Regions from separate parts of the Homo sapiens genome. Here regions 1 and 2 are each linked to region 3. The links are contacts of gene promoters, found by promoter capture Hi-C in human tissues and cell types (Jung and others, 2019). All regions are on one chromosome and are shown on one strand. Each heading gives the region's core, a stretch centred on a gene start or on the middle of the fragment in contact. The rest is flanking DNA. Distances are from core to core; before and after follow the strand shown. Region 1 overlaps RCAN2 (regulator of calcineurin 2). Region 2 overlaps RCAN2-DT (RCAN2 divergent transcript). Region 3 holds the start of RCAN2 (regulator of calcineurin 2).

The links. The method cuts DNA at HindIII sites, captures the fragments that hold promoters and counts their contacts. A contact is called where the count stands out against the background at its distance.
Region 1: a contact is called between a fragment that was not itself captured here and the fragment with the promoter of RCAN2 in region 3, in 1 of the 25 tissues and cell types used here (hippocampus).
Region 2: a contact is called between a fragment that was not itself captured here and the fragment with the promoter of RCAN2 in region 3, in 1 of the 25 tissues and cell types used here (psoas muscle).

Annotation. Positions count from the first base shown.
Region 1 is chr6:46,454,590-46,458,491 of GRCh38, reverse strand. It overlaps RCAN2 (regulator of calcineurin 2), which reads left to right. Exons shown (of 5, transcript NM_001251974.2): 2 at 1,514-1,740. The coding sequence starts at 1,516. Among named protein-coding and RNA genes, the nearest start is that of RCAN2, 35 kb to the left of the region's middle. RefSeq lists an enhancer at 1-19. The HindIII fragment of the contact is 8,684 bases long and covers 1-3,902 here.
Region 2 is chr6:46,523,862-46,528,240 of GRCh38, reverse strand. All of the region lies in intron 1 of RCAN2-DT (RCAN2 divergent transcript), which reads right to left. Among named protein-coding and RNA genes, the nearest start is that of RCAN2-DT, 34 kb to the right of the region's middle. The HindIII fragment of the contact is 3,073 bases long and covers 591-3,663 here.
Region 3 is chr6:46,489,190-46,493,220 of GRCh38, reverse strand. RCAN2 (regulator of calcineurin 2) reads left to right here and starts at 1,772. Exons shown (of 5, transcript NM_001251974.2): 1 at 1,772-2,048. It overlaps RCAN2-DT (RCAN2 divergent transcript), which reads right to left and starts at 1,169. Exons shown (of 3, transcript NR_125837.1): 1 at 1,094-1,169. RefSeq lists silencers at 1,150-1,209, 1,720-1,809. The HindIII fragment of the contact is 8,830 bases long and covers 1-4,031 here.

The DNA of each region.
Region 1 (3,902 bases), core at 232-2,731, 34 kb after region 3:
TACTTACCACAATTTTGATGATTTGATTTTAGAGATATCACCTCAAACTATTTAATTTTTGGCTCCTACCTCAACCGGGCTTAAGATTTTATATGTAATGCATTATTGCCAGAAAATGCTGCTTACCAACTCTCATTGGGGCTTTTCTAGGAAAAATGAAAATAAAAAACATAACCTCATCACTATGAGGTTCAAGGGTTTATTTCACAGTTCAAGAGAGAGATAAGCAGAAACTGATATTTTGTCTGGGGATCTGGAATTTGTATCTAGCTAAACTTCATGAGAGCAGATTGATGTTTAGTGGTACCCACCTTTCTGTCCTTTGCTCTGAGCATCTGTGATGATGGGACTGAAGAACATGGAGCTTCCTGAAGATGATTCAGTAGCCATGTCATAATTTTCAGTCAGTCTTACTTGCGTAACCATGAGCAAGTTATTTCACTTTCCGAGCCTCTTAACTATTGAGCTTTGAGCAGAATAGTATCACAGTCATGAAAATCGGTACAAAAGAAGAAAGTAGATACCAGCCTTGGACTATATGGGGATACTGACCTAATCCACTAAATTATGTACCAGTATCAAAAAAATGGAAAAACTCTGCAGTTAGGCAAACTGCAAATATAAGGGGTGAAAAAATAATAGAAGGGTTGAACACAGCTAGGTGAAATCAATACTGGAAAGCCTTACAAGGCAAGGAGGGACGGGGACCTGTGCACCATGGATTGATCAAGATAGCACTGATTTTTTTAGGATCTGGACCTGGTTCACAAATGACTTGAAGTAATTATCTCAGTCAGAAGAGGAAATATCTGGGAGGTGTGTGTGTGTGGTGTGTTTACTCTCACTGTACTCTCACAGGATGAACTATTACCTGTTAGAGTTATCATGATCAGGATTCAGGTGCTGATGAAGTAGATCATACTTTCTTAAATATAGGCTTCTACTTATTTTGATCTGCTTCATTCCTGTGGCATAGGAGAGTGAGCTCTGGTGCCAGTTTCCCTGAGTTTGAATCCTAGCCCTGCCATTTTGTCAGTGGTCTTGTAAAAGTTACTTAATTGCTTTCTTCCTGTTTTCCCATCTGTAAATTGGGGAAAATATTGGTACCAACCTTATAGACTATTGTGGAGATTAAATAAGGTAGTTAATGTATGTAATTGATGTTCTAAATTTATATAAATCATTTAGAATAGTGCCTGGAACTCAATACACGATAGACATTGGTAGTAGTGGTGGTGATCTCCATTTCCTATACCTATTTGTTTGTCTGTTTGTTTTAAAAAACCATAGTACTGACTCGGTTCTTGCCCCAGAGCAGAGCTGTATGGGAAATTCTGGTTCAGGGATCAAGGGAACCATGTGAACTTGCAGATCTTCTCCCTTCCAATATCCCCTGCCTCTGCTCCTAATCGTACTCCACTGTTCTGCCCCTGACAATACAAAACTGTGACCCGAAAACTGAGTTTTAAGGAATTTGTTCTGCAGTAACACATGCTCATCTTTGTATCCCCAGGAATGAGGGGAGAATCATACTTCATCGGAATGAGGAGCCCAGGGCAGCAGGGACACGTCCCTGAAGATGGAGGACTTTTCTTACTGTGCTGCATAGACAGGGACTGGGCTGTCACTCGTTGTTTTGCAGAAGAAGCCTTTCAAGCAATCACTGACTTCAATGACCTCCCCAACTCGTTGTTTGCGTGCAATGTTCACCAGTCAGTGTTTGAAGGAGAAGAGAGCAAGGTAAGCTGCCTTTTTCTGTTCCTAAAACATGGGGAGATATGGCATTATCTCCAAGTAATCCTGTTGTTCATTTGTGGTTGGTGTTTTGAAGTTTTTGGAAATGTTTAGTTGGCTCTATTTTTGGCATGTGTACCAGGATAAGAAAATCCCATTCTATTATCAACTAACTTTAGAGATACATCTGACAGGGTTGTAGATGAGAATATGTTGAATCAAATTGAGTCCTCTGTGACTCACAGGTCTATCTAGCAAAACAAATGGTGTTAATATGGATTGTAGGAAATGCCCCTTAGGCTAGGAAGCAGATGTCTTAAACTCCTAAAAGTTTCCTTTTCCTCTATTCTGCCATAAATATAATTTGCCTTTCTCAAAACAATACAAACTCCATTTTACCTCCAGCCTTCCCGCAGCTTGACGAATGTTCTAAAAAAGCCTTCTTAAACTGTGAGCCAAGTCTCACAGTAGATATTAGAGAAGGTAAGTTGGTTGGCATCTGAGTCCTTCTTTGCTCATTGATACCATGGTGGTATTGCCATGTGTGTGTTGTAAGAATTTGAATGAAGCAGCAACTCCTCAATTTGAAATGATAGGGGAATGAGGTTGTCTATGTATTAACATTTTCCAGCTTCCCATTTTAAGAAACAGACTTAACTTAGTGTAAATGTTTTTGGCAATCACAGTAAATATTCCATTTGGAGACCTTTCCAAAGTTTATTTCAGATTTCTCTGACCTTTGAATGGGGTATCTAAATGGATTAAACCTTCCCTTGTAGATGTAGATTCTTAGTTGTAAAAGCCACTATTATACTACTGAAACATGGACAAAATTTTTTGGATAAAGGGCCTTTTTTTTTTCTTTTTCTTTTTCTTTCTTTCTTTCTTTCTTTTTTTTTTTTTAACGGAATCTCGCTCTGTTGCCCAGGCTGGAGTGCAGTGGTGCAATCTCGGCTCACTGCCAGCTCCACCTCCTTGGGTTCACGCCATTCTCCTGCTTCAGCCTCCTGAGTAGCTGGGACTACAGGCGCCCATCACCACGCCCAGCTAATTTTTTGTATTTTTAGTAGAGATGGGGTTTCACTGTGTTAGCCAGGATGGTCTCGATCTCCTGACCTCGTAATCTGCCTGCCTCGGCCTCCCAAAGTGTTGGGATTACAGGTGTGAGCCACTGCGCCCGGCTGAGGCTTTTTTTTTTCTAAACTAAAGTATATGACTCTGTGTGAGGTATAAGAGTAGGCTTTATGGTTGCTGTTTCACAGACTTTAGCTCTTTCTGCCCATTGCTGAAGTCTGTGTCTGGCATAATTACTGGAAGTCTGATTTACGGATATGATTGATTTTGTAGACAATCCTGATAGCCACAGACAAAACCATCCCAGAGGATTAGGAATTATTTTAAGCCATTTAAAGATATTTTTATAATGATATCAGTGTGGAGTTGAACTGTTGAAATTATGGGCTGAAAATAGCTTGAAATACAAGGAATTATATATAATTAGAACCTCCAGTGCTATGATCATCAGACTATTTAAAGTAAGAAAGTGGCACATGCCAATTTCTTCTTTGGAAGAAACTGAGAATTTTGTTCTTGGATTATAACCAGATTATCACAAATGATAATTTTCTCAGGGCAAGTAGTTTCCTCTGAAATATACCTGCCATAAACTATAAAGCAACAGTCTATGTATTCTCATCATATCATCCATTTCTCTAAATATCACAATTAGAAGGATTTTCCTTAGAGATTTAATGAGGGTTTTCATTCTTTCCTGATTAAATACTTCCCAGTAGACTGAAACAATGAGGCCTAGGAAGGTGCTAATCTCATTTAGCAGTGCTGCTCAAGAATGGCTGATTAACTGAATTAGAACTGAGGACATAGAAGGACAGGGGCTGGAGGGGGGAGTTCATGGGAGTCTGTACACATCTATTTTGATATTCTGATTTGTGATTGAATAAAGGATTACAAGATATTCTCATCTAATGTGTATACGAAGTTTGTGCATAGCAGTTTGGGAAATAGTATTTGGTTTTAGGATGACCTTGATAAAATATTGAGGCAAAATAAACAAGAATATAGTTAATTGCACTCAGTTTCAAATGATTTAGATCACCATTTTACAGCCATGGAGGTGAATTTTATAATTGGCTGAAGTCTATGTAATT
Region 2 (4,379 bases), core at 878-3,377, 35 kb before region 3:
GGAATTATGGATTCAGTGATGGTTCTCAGGCTACAGGGGATGGTGGAGAAACAAATAGAAAAAGTCTGGATCCCTAAATGACTGTATGGAGAAGGGTCACCTCCTCCCAGCACAACCCACATTAAAATGTAAAAATAGGAAATAATATACTTTTACAATGTTAAGTCACTAAAATTTGGAAGTTGTTAGTTCCAGCAGATAACTTATCTTGTACGTTTACATAAGAGTTATATAACATAATTTAAATGCTATGTTGTCATTTGGATCAGACTTAAATAAGCCTCAACATCACTTGAAAATTATTTCTGTTACCATGCCATGAAGAAAACTAAACTGAGTTTTCTCAGTTTGGAGAGCAAATACCATAAAATGAAATGAAGACAAATTAATTTAGACCTGTTTAAAACTTTAATTGATTTGATTTACTCTAGCTTATTCACCAATAAATGGAATGTGGTGAAATGATCGTCATGTATCTTTCAGATTTTTATGTTCTATTTACATGGGTTTTCAAGAGCTTTGTTCCAACGAGCTTGTTTTGTGATTCTGAGCTCCTTCAGAAAGTAGTTTCATATTTAATACATCATGTTTGATTGTTGCTAAGCATCCTTTTGGTGCAAATTAATAACAACACAAGCACTAGCTTCAAAAGCCAAATACAGGATGGGGCTGGAGCAAAGGATGCTAGACTGACTGCCCTCTGACTTGCAAAACCAGGAGATTTCACATGTGAATCTCTGTAACAATTTGTTTTTCTTTTGTTTTGGCTTCTTCTCCAGTAAAGAAGAAAATAAGAATACAACATTGTGATTGTGAATTGCTCAATGTTGATTAGCTCCTCTCTAATTCTTGTGCTAAAAAGAAAGCTCATCTGCAGAAGGCAAAAAGGCTGCCAGGTGGAGAAGGATGGCTGATCCAGGACTGAGCTGACCGCAATATGAAGGGAAATGAAATGGTTTTGTGTAGTCATATTAGGCACTGGAACCTGCAAATGAAGCCAAGGGTCAGTTACCGAAGGGGAGACACATGTAGGAACATGAACCTGAAGACAGCTGCTAAACCAAAAGATTGAGCATCAGAGGAGCAAGCTCAGGCTTAACAAATAGTGAGAATGACAGCAGGATATTCAACCATGGTGACAGTTTAGGGCTGAATTTGTTTAGCCCATGCAAAACCCAAGCCTGGAAGGCTTCGCCTTACCATTTAGCTTTATCCTGCAAGCTTGCTGGGTCCTGAGGGCCTCTGAGTGTTGTGAGTGGTAGAGGCAGCTGGCAGGTGGTGGAGGATAAGGTAGGGGATTATTCACAAAAAGCAAGTGGATCTTGGCTGAAACAAAGATACAGGGCTCAAATGAAGATCACACCTACTGATAAACAGGCAAAGTGCCATTGTTGCTGAAGTAAAATCTTCATCCTGTGCCAGCAGGAAGGAAAGCTAGTGTGGCAGTTGAGTACAGGGCTCCCAAAGTGTAGCCTGGGGCACTACGATGGCTCCTCCTTTTGTCCCCAGCTGTGGCCAATGGAGATATTGATGAAATAGAGGCTGGGCCATCCTCAGACACTGACCTGGGTCCTCTTCCTGTTCCCTTCAGGTCATGCCGCCTCCTCTTTCCCCTGTGACCTCTCTTCTTTATTTTCCCTTCATATTTTCTCTCCTTCTGCCAGAGACTGTTTCTCTAATCAAGGAGTGGGAGTGAACAGAAGCTTTTCTATTTCTCACATTTTCTTTTTGTCCCACTTGCATTGGCCAAAGCAAGTCATACACCCTAGCCAAGTATCAGTGTGGCAAGCCTTATAGTCTTCTTTTAGGGAATAGCCGTCATCCTCCACAAGCACCTTCTAACCAGTCTTTGGTGGATAGGATTGGACCTGTAGACTCTCAGGGTAGGGCCAACCTATTTCAGATGGGAGGGATCAAAGGGACAGAGAGAAACAGTTTTGACATGAAGCTTGAAGAAAATATTGAAGTCAGATACAAACCCCAGGAAGATTTTGGCCTCAGTGAGGAAAGTGAAAAGAAGGTTCATTTGTAAACATTACCAGAATACTTAGATTAGTATTAATTGATAAAATTGAGTTAATGAATGACCTCTCTGGGTTTGATCAAGTTAGCTTAAAAGAGAAAAATGTTACTGGCTCATTGTTAGCTTGGTGCAAAAGTAATTGCAGTTTTTGCCATTAAAAATAATTAATTTTGCACCAATCTAATATATGCAGTAGGAACTTTGAGCCTTAGTTTTATGGATTTGGATGGGAATGCTAGAAGAATGTAATAATGAAATCTTTGGGAAAAATTGTATTCTATAAATAAGGAGAGCTCCACAGTTACCAAGATTTTGGCAAATATGATTTAAATGTCAGTGAAGGAGTTTCAGTCTACATTTGAATGGAATCTTTTCCTTCTTGTCCTTTTCTTGCTGTTATTGTTCCTCCCCTTTCTCCACTCTCTTCCTCCTTTTCTTTATTCTTCTTCTTATTCTCCTTCCTCTTTTCTTCTTCTTCTTTTCTTCTTCTCCTTCTTCTTTTTCTTCTCCTTCTTCTTTATCTTCTTCTTTATCTAATTCCTCCTTCCTCTTCCACTTCCCTCCCCCCTCCCCCTTCTTCTCTTCCTTTTTCTCCTCCTCCTTCTTCCTCATCCTCAGTCTGATCAACCTCCCTCCTTCTCCTCTCTTCTTTCCTTCTTCCTTAGTATTCTTTTCCTCATAAGTATTTATACTGCCACTTTTGAAATTCTTTGAATATTTTGTCAATTCTCAAGGATTTTTTCAAATGTAGCTTTTTAAATACTAAAAACATACACTGATTGTATCAATTAGAATTATATTTGGCTGTATATAATGGAAAAATCCCAAATAACAATTATGTAAACATACCAGGTTCATTATCCCACATTAAAGAAGCCAGAGTTCAGCAGCCCAGGACTGGTTTCACCCTCCATAGTGTCATAAACTTGACACCGAGAAGGGCAAGGAGACCTGGTAAGGTCACACATCAAGTCAGCAGAACTTGGACTGCTGGAAAGCAAGACAAGTTTTGTAACTCGAACAATGGAGCTTCAAGCGATTTCTAAATTTAGCTTATTTTGAACTTGTCTTTATTCTCCTTATTGTCCTCTTTTCTTTGATTTCTTTCAGCTCCTTTGTTGGTTTTATCTTCCCTTTGCAGCATCCTTGCAACAAAATATACCACATGGCCTTATTCTCCGGGAAGACAGTAACTGTCAGAAATATAGAAGTCACTACCTCTGAGGTGGTGCAGACACCTGCCTGTGGTCCTGATGGATCGCTGGGAGGTAATAAGATGGATTGCCCAGAACTTCAAAATGGAGTCCAAATGCAAAGAATCAGAGGGAATTCACACAGTCACAAAATGCAACACAAGGGACCCATTGACTTAAGGCATTTTTTTGGTGCTTCTTGCTTTTTTCTCTATTAATAACTGTTGGGTTATACTAATATCAAAGTAGGCAGTGGATGTGGTAGAAAAGGATGTGGGCTTTGATTTCAAATCTACTGGACTTATATTCAGATATTACCTATCTACCAGTTAAGTGTCTTGGGAAAGTTATTTCTATAACCCCACTTTCCTCATGTATCAAATGGAGGTAATAGTCTCCACTCTGCAGGTCTGTTGTCAGGATTAAAAGAGATGATACACATAAAATTTTTGGCTCTTTGATTTTAAACAAATAACTACAAACTACAGAAAAACAAGCCATATGAAAATTTATGTTTACAAAATTAGGTAAATTAGTTATTAATAATTTGAATTTTAAATAATAACTACACTGGTTTAAAACATGCCACCTTCAAAGGGAATGCAAAGTCTTGTTTACATAAAACAAATCTAATGTACACACAATTCGAGGAGTAAACTGATGTCTGTTTTACTCATTGCTGGATCTAGAACTAGAATGGTTTTGGGCACATGGGAAATTTTCAGTAAATATTTGTTGAATGAATGAATACATGAATGAATGAAATAACTTTCTATTCTATATGTACTTGGCACCATAGTAGCTGTTGGAAATACAAATGACTCAACTTTCATGCGTCTTAGATTCTAAGTCAAGACAAAACAGTAAAATGATTTCAGATACTGATAAATACTATGAGGAAAATTAAACAGGGTTATGTAATAAAAATTGATTCAAGGAATGTGAAGGAGGCAAAAAGAGGCTGAGATTGGATGGTCAGAGAATTCCTGAGTGATAGGAAAGGACCAGTTATGGAAAGATCTAGATTTGTTGTTGAAGATTTCCTTAACAAGCACTGTATATATTTATTTGACTTATGCTAATAGAAATCTATTTAGTACATTTTGGAAGGATTTTCTTAAGTTATAAGTTAGTCACAAGGTTTATAGTCATATATGCAGATA
Region 3 (4,031 bases), core at 523-3,022:
TAACATATATTGAGTATCACTGTGTGCCAGGCACTGTGCTTAGGTGTTTTACATGTATTACCTCATTTAGTTCTCAGATTAAATCCTGTGTTTTTCCAACTTTTCAAAATTTCTGCAATGAATATATTGCTTCTATAAGCTGAAAATTTTATTTGTAAATGTATATTCACAAAATAATAAATAGTCCCTGTTAAGATGAAAGTCATCAGTTTGACGAAGATTCTAGGAAGTACTCACTAATAATAAGTGAGATTTTGTTTAAAGGGTTGGGGATGCTTTACTTGGAAAGAAAGGGGATCCTGGAGTGCATTAGACATGCTAGCTATTTTTACATATTTTAAAGATAGTTAGAAGAGGAATTTGACTTGGTTTCTTTGGCTTCAAAAAGTAAGGGAGAACTAATGATTAAAGGGAGGCAAGTTTTTGCTCAACTTAAGAATGCCCTTTCAGACAATTCTAACCCAAATGGCAATTATCTAAATCAACGACTAATTACAGATTTATGCATCCAGGGGAAGGCTGAACGAGGGGAAGCCTAAGGTCATTTTCAATTCTGAAATTGTGTTTATGTTAATGCAGATTAATCAGAGAGAAGAGCCAACGTCTCGTCTACCTTTTTTTGTTGAAAACAAACAAAACGTGATTGTATGTCAACTTTGGAAAAAAACAACGTAGTGTGGGTAAGTGAAGAATGATTGTGAATGGACTGCTTCAGTGCAATCGTAATATTGTTATCAGAAAATCAAAAGGCATAAAAAGCAAAAAGAAAACGGCTTATTTATGCAGCAATTCGAAAGATGACAGAACACAAACCTGATTTAAATGTTATTCACTCCCTCCCTCAGATTGGTCTGCACACCTCCTTCCTTTAATTTCCCGCACTCTCCTATGATCTTTTGCATAATTCACATTCTCTTGCCATGAGACTCAGTCCTGTTCCTATCTGTGCCACCCGTAAGCCACAGGCTTCCTTACCCATTTGAGTTGCTTTATTCCGTAAAGCAGAGACTTCTACTGGGGTTAACTTTGTTGAGCAACAGATCTACCCTAGATTGCGATTCACCTTCAGTCCCGTTTGCTGTAGGATACCAACCTCCCACTCACTGTGTCATGGCTCTCACACAATAGGATTCCTTGCAGCCCGAACCCTTCTGTCCTCAGGTCTGATGGCTGCAAATCCTGGCAAAGCTGTGAAGCCCGCGCAGGGCACCCTCAGCGGCCTGGGCTGGGCCGGGCGCAGGGCTCCAGCCAGAGGGCGCCAGCGCCCACCAAGCGCAGAAGCCCGGGAGGACCATCCAGGGGCTCCCCGACATTTCCTCAGTTAGCCAGAGTCGGGGGGCTCAGACATCTGGTAAGAAGAGTCTTTCTCCCAGTACTCCCCCACCACAGTTTGCTTCTCTGACCATTTCTTCTGGGCTGTCGCTGCCCCCTCACCCTCAGCTTAGTATGGGACCCCGAGGAGCCTCTTCCCGCTGAGGCCGGGACTCCTGCAGCCAGGCTCCCACGCCAGGTGCCCGGAGGCTCCTGCGCCCTCCCGGGCACCTGAAGTGGAAAGGAGGGGGTGCGGGGCTGAGGGCAGGGTGAGAGCCCCGGAGGTGCGGTGGGTAGGGGACTGGGGAGGGCGCCGGGTCAGGAGGGAGGAGATGAGAAGAGGCCAGACAGGGGCTTTCGGTTTCCCTGGGTCTGATTGGAGGTTGGCCCGATGAGTCGGAGCTGGGGACGCGCCCATCTCCGCCGGCTCCTGCGAGAGCCGCCGGCTCAGCCCCTCCCTGGAGCCGCTTTGTCCCGGGTGACGGCGGCGGAGGTTGCGGGGAGGAGCGGGCAGCAGGCAGAATCCCACTGACCCACGGCGGCAGAGAGAGGGAGGCGGGGCGCGCCGCGCCGCGTACGGCCCCACGCAAAGGCCCGCGGGCACCGCGCCGCCCCCACGCGCTCGCACCGGCGGGCAGGTGAGCAGGCAGCGCCGCGCGCTAGCAGCTGGCCCCCGTAGACGCCCCAGCCGCCGCCTCCGCCTCCGCCTCCGCCGGCGCATCGCGGACGCCCAGCAGGTCGGTTATGTAACCGCGCCGGCCAGGCTCGCCCAGGCACCCCGTCCCGCCGGGGCTGACAGCAGCCCCGGGGTCGTGCCGGGGGTCCGCGGCGGGGATCTGGTCTCCGGGCCGGGTCTGGGTGCAGGGCGGGGGCGGGGGCGGGGGCGGGGGCGGTGGCGGGGGTGGGGGCAGTGGCGGGGGTGGGGTTTGTCTCCAGATCTGTGGTCAGTCCCGGCTGCGGCCGTGGGGACGGAGATCTCCCGCGACCCCCCTCTAGGGGGCGCGGGTCCAAAGGAGCCCCTTCCCCACTGCCCGTGGCCCGGGGGTTTGCCTTCCTGGAAGCAGCAGCAGGTGCATAAGTGAAGGAGCGAGGATGACGCCTGTGATCCCCGGGACTGAGGCTTAGAGAGGGTCTAGAAGAGACTAACTGGATGCAGAGAGCAAAGAAGATCGAGAGATCCCTTCTTCCCAATGCAGAGGCTGGGGAGGGGGTAGGTGCACTGAGGTGCAGCGGGCTGAGAATTGTCCTGCTTGGGATTAGCGGCCTTGGGTCATCTAAAAATAACTTCAAGTTTGAAAAGTGAAATGGAGCGGAGCGCAGTGTGCCGGGTTCGTCCTGCCTGTGGGATGCTTCGCTCCAGAAGTCACCAGAGGGAACAGGCAAATCCCAGCCGCCTGATCCCTCGGCCGCCTCCAGGTCTCGCTGGTTTCCAGGGTGCCTCGGTTTGCCTTTTAGTTAATGATTTATTCTTCGAGGTACTTCTGCCTATTTCTTATCCCAAAATGAATTATAGCAGAATGCATGCTTTGAATCTTTCCTGTTTCTTACAATGGGATAGAGGTGTTCAACTGCCAAATGAAGTTTTTTTAAGTCTCAGTTTAGTAAAAACAAAAGTTTCTGGGGTTCCTTTAATATGCATTCCCACAGTTTTCCACAATTGGAGATGAAGGGATGTCACAGCATTCCAGCTCACACTTCTCTCTCCCTTCAGCCAGAATTTCACTCAACTTATCATGCAGAGGGGAGGCTTTAGGAAATGTAGGACAACTTTAACAGTGCAACTCAAGTTTCACACCTTTGTTATCCTTTATTACATCACTTCAAAACGAAGAACAAATGTACCACAAGGTACCACGCAACACTTGCTAACCGGCCTCTGCATTCTGGGGGCACAGTGAAGTTGGAAATACCCAAAAGCTGGAAAGGATCAAGAGGCAGGTCAGCATTGACTGTCAACTAGGCAGGAGAGTGAGCATTTGGCTGCTTTTCAGTGTAGTCATTGATTTTCTTTAGCCTTAGAGCTATTATATTAAGTATGATCAGCCATTGAGTTCAATTAGTCTAAAATGTGAGTTGCACTTTGCATTCAAATCCACTGCAAATCAAATCAGCATTTACTGAGCATCTACTACCTGAGTCCAGTCCATAGAATTTTGTGAGGGAAAAGTGTTCTCATCTAAAGCTACATGATTCTGAGAGCTCTCAAAATGCTTAGTGTGTGCAGGTCCTCCAGAACTCACCTAAATTTGGGAGGGCATGACTCTTTCTCCAGTGATGAACGTGTAACAGACAGAAGTGGGAACTCGAGAGCTTTCTCATTTGTAAGTGCACATCACGGTGTTAAAAACCACTTGTGTAATCATTTGCAGACAGTCATACATATCACAAATTCTTTTTATTGAGACTAACATTGACAATCACCGAGGTCTCATTTTCCTATTTTACGTTCTGTAGCATCCACTCGATCAATTCAATAATTATTTGTTGAGCACCTCCTGTGTGCTTTGTAGGTCCTGTGCCAGAGGCTAAAAGAATGAGGCCCATGCCTCCCAGAAATCAATTTAGCAGAAAAGGAGAAGAAAATAAATGGTAATGATTCAACATCATGAGTGTTTAATGAAGACAGAAACAAGTTTAATGGGAGCCAACAGAAGAAAGAGTGGAGGGAATCTGGAAGAGTTTAAAGAAGAGTTTACATTTGGTCTGGATCCCAATAGGTG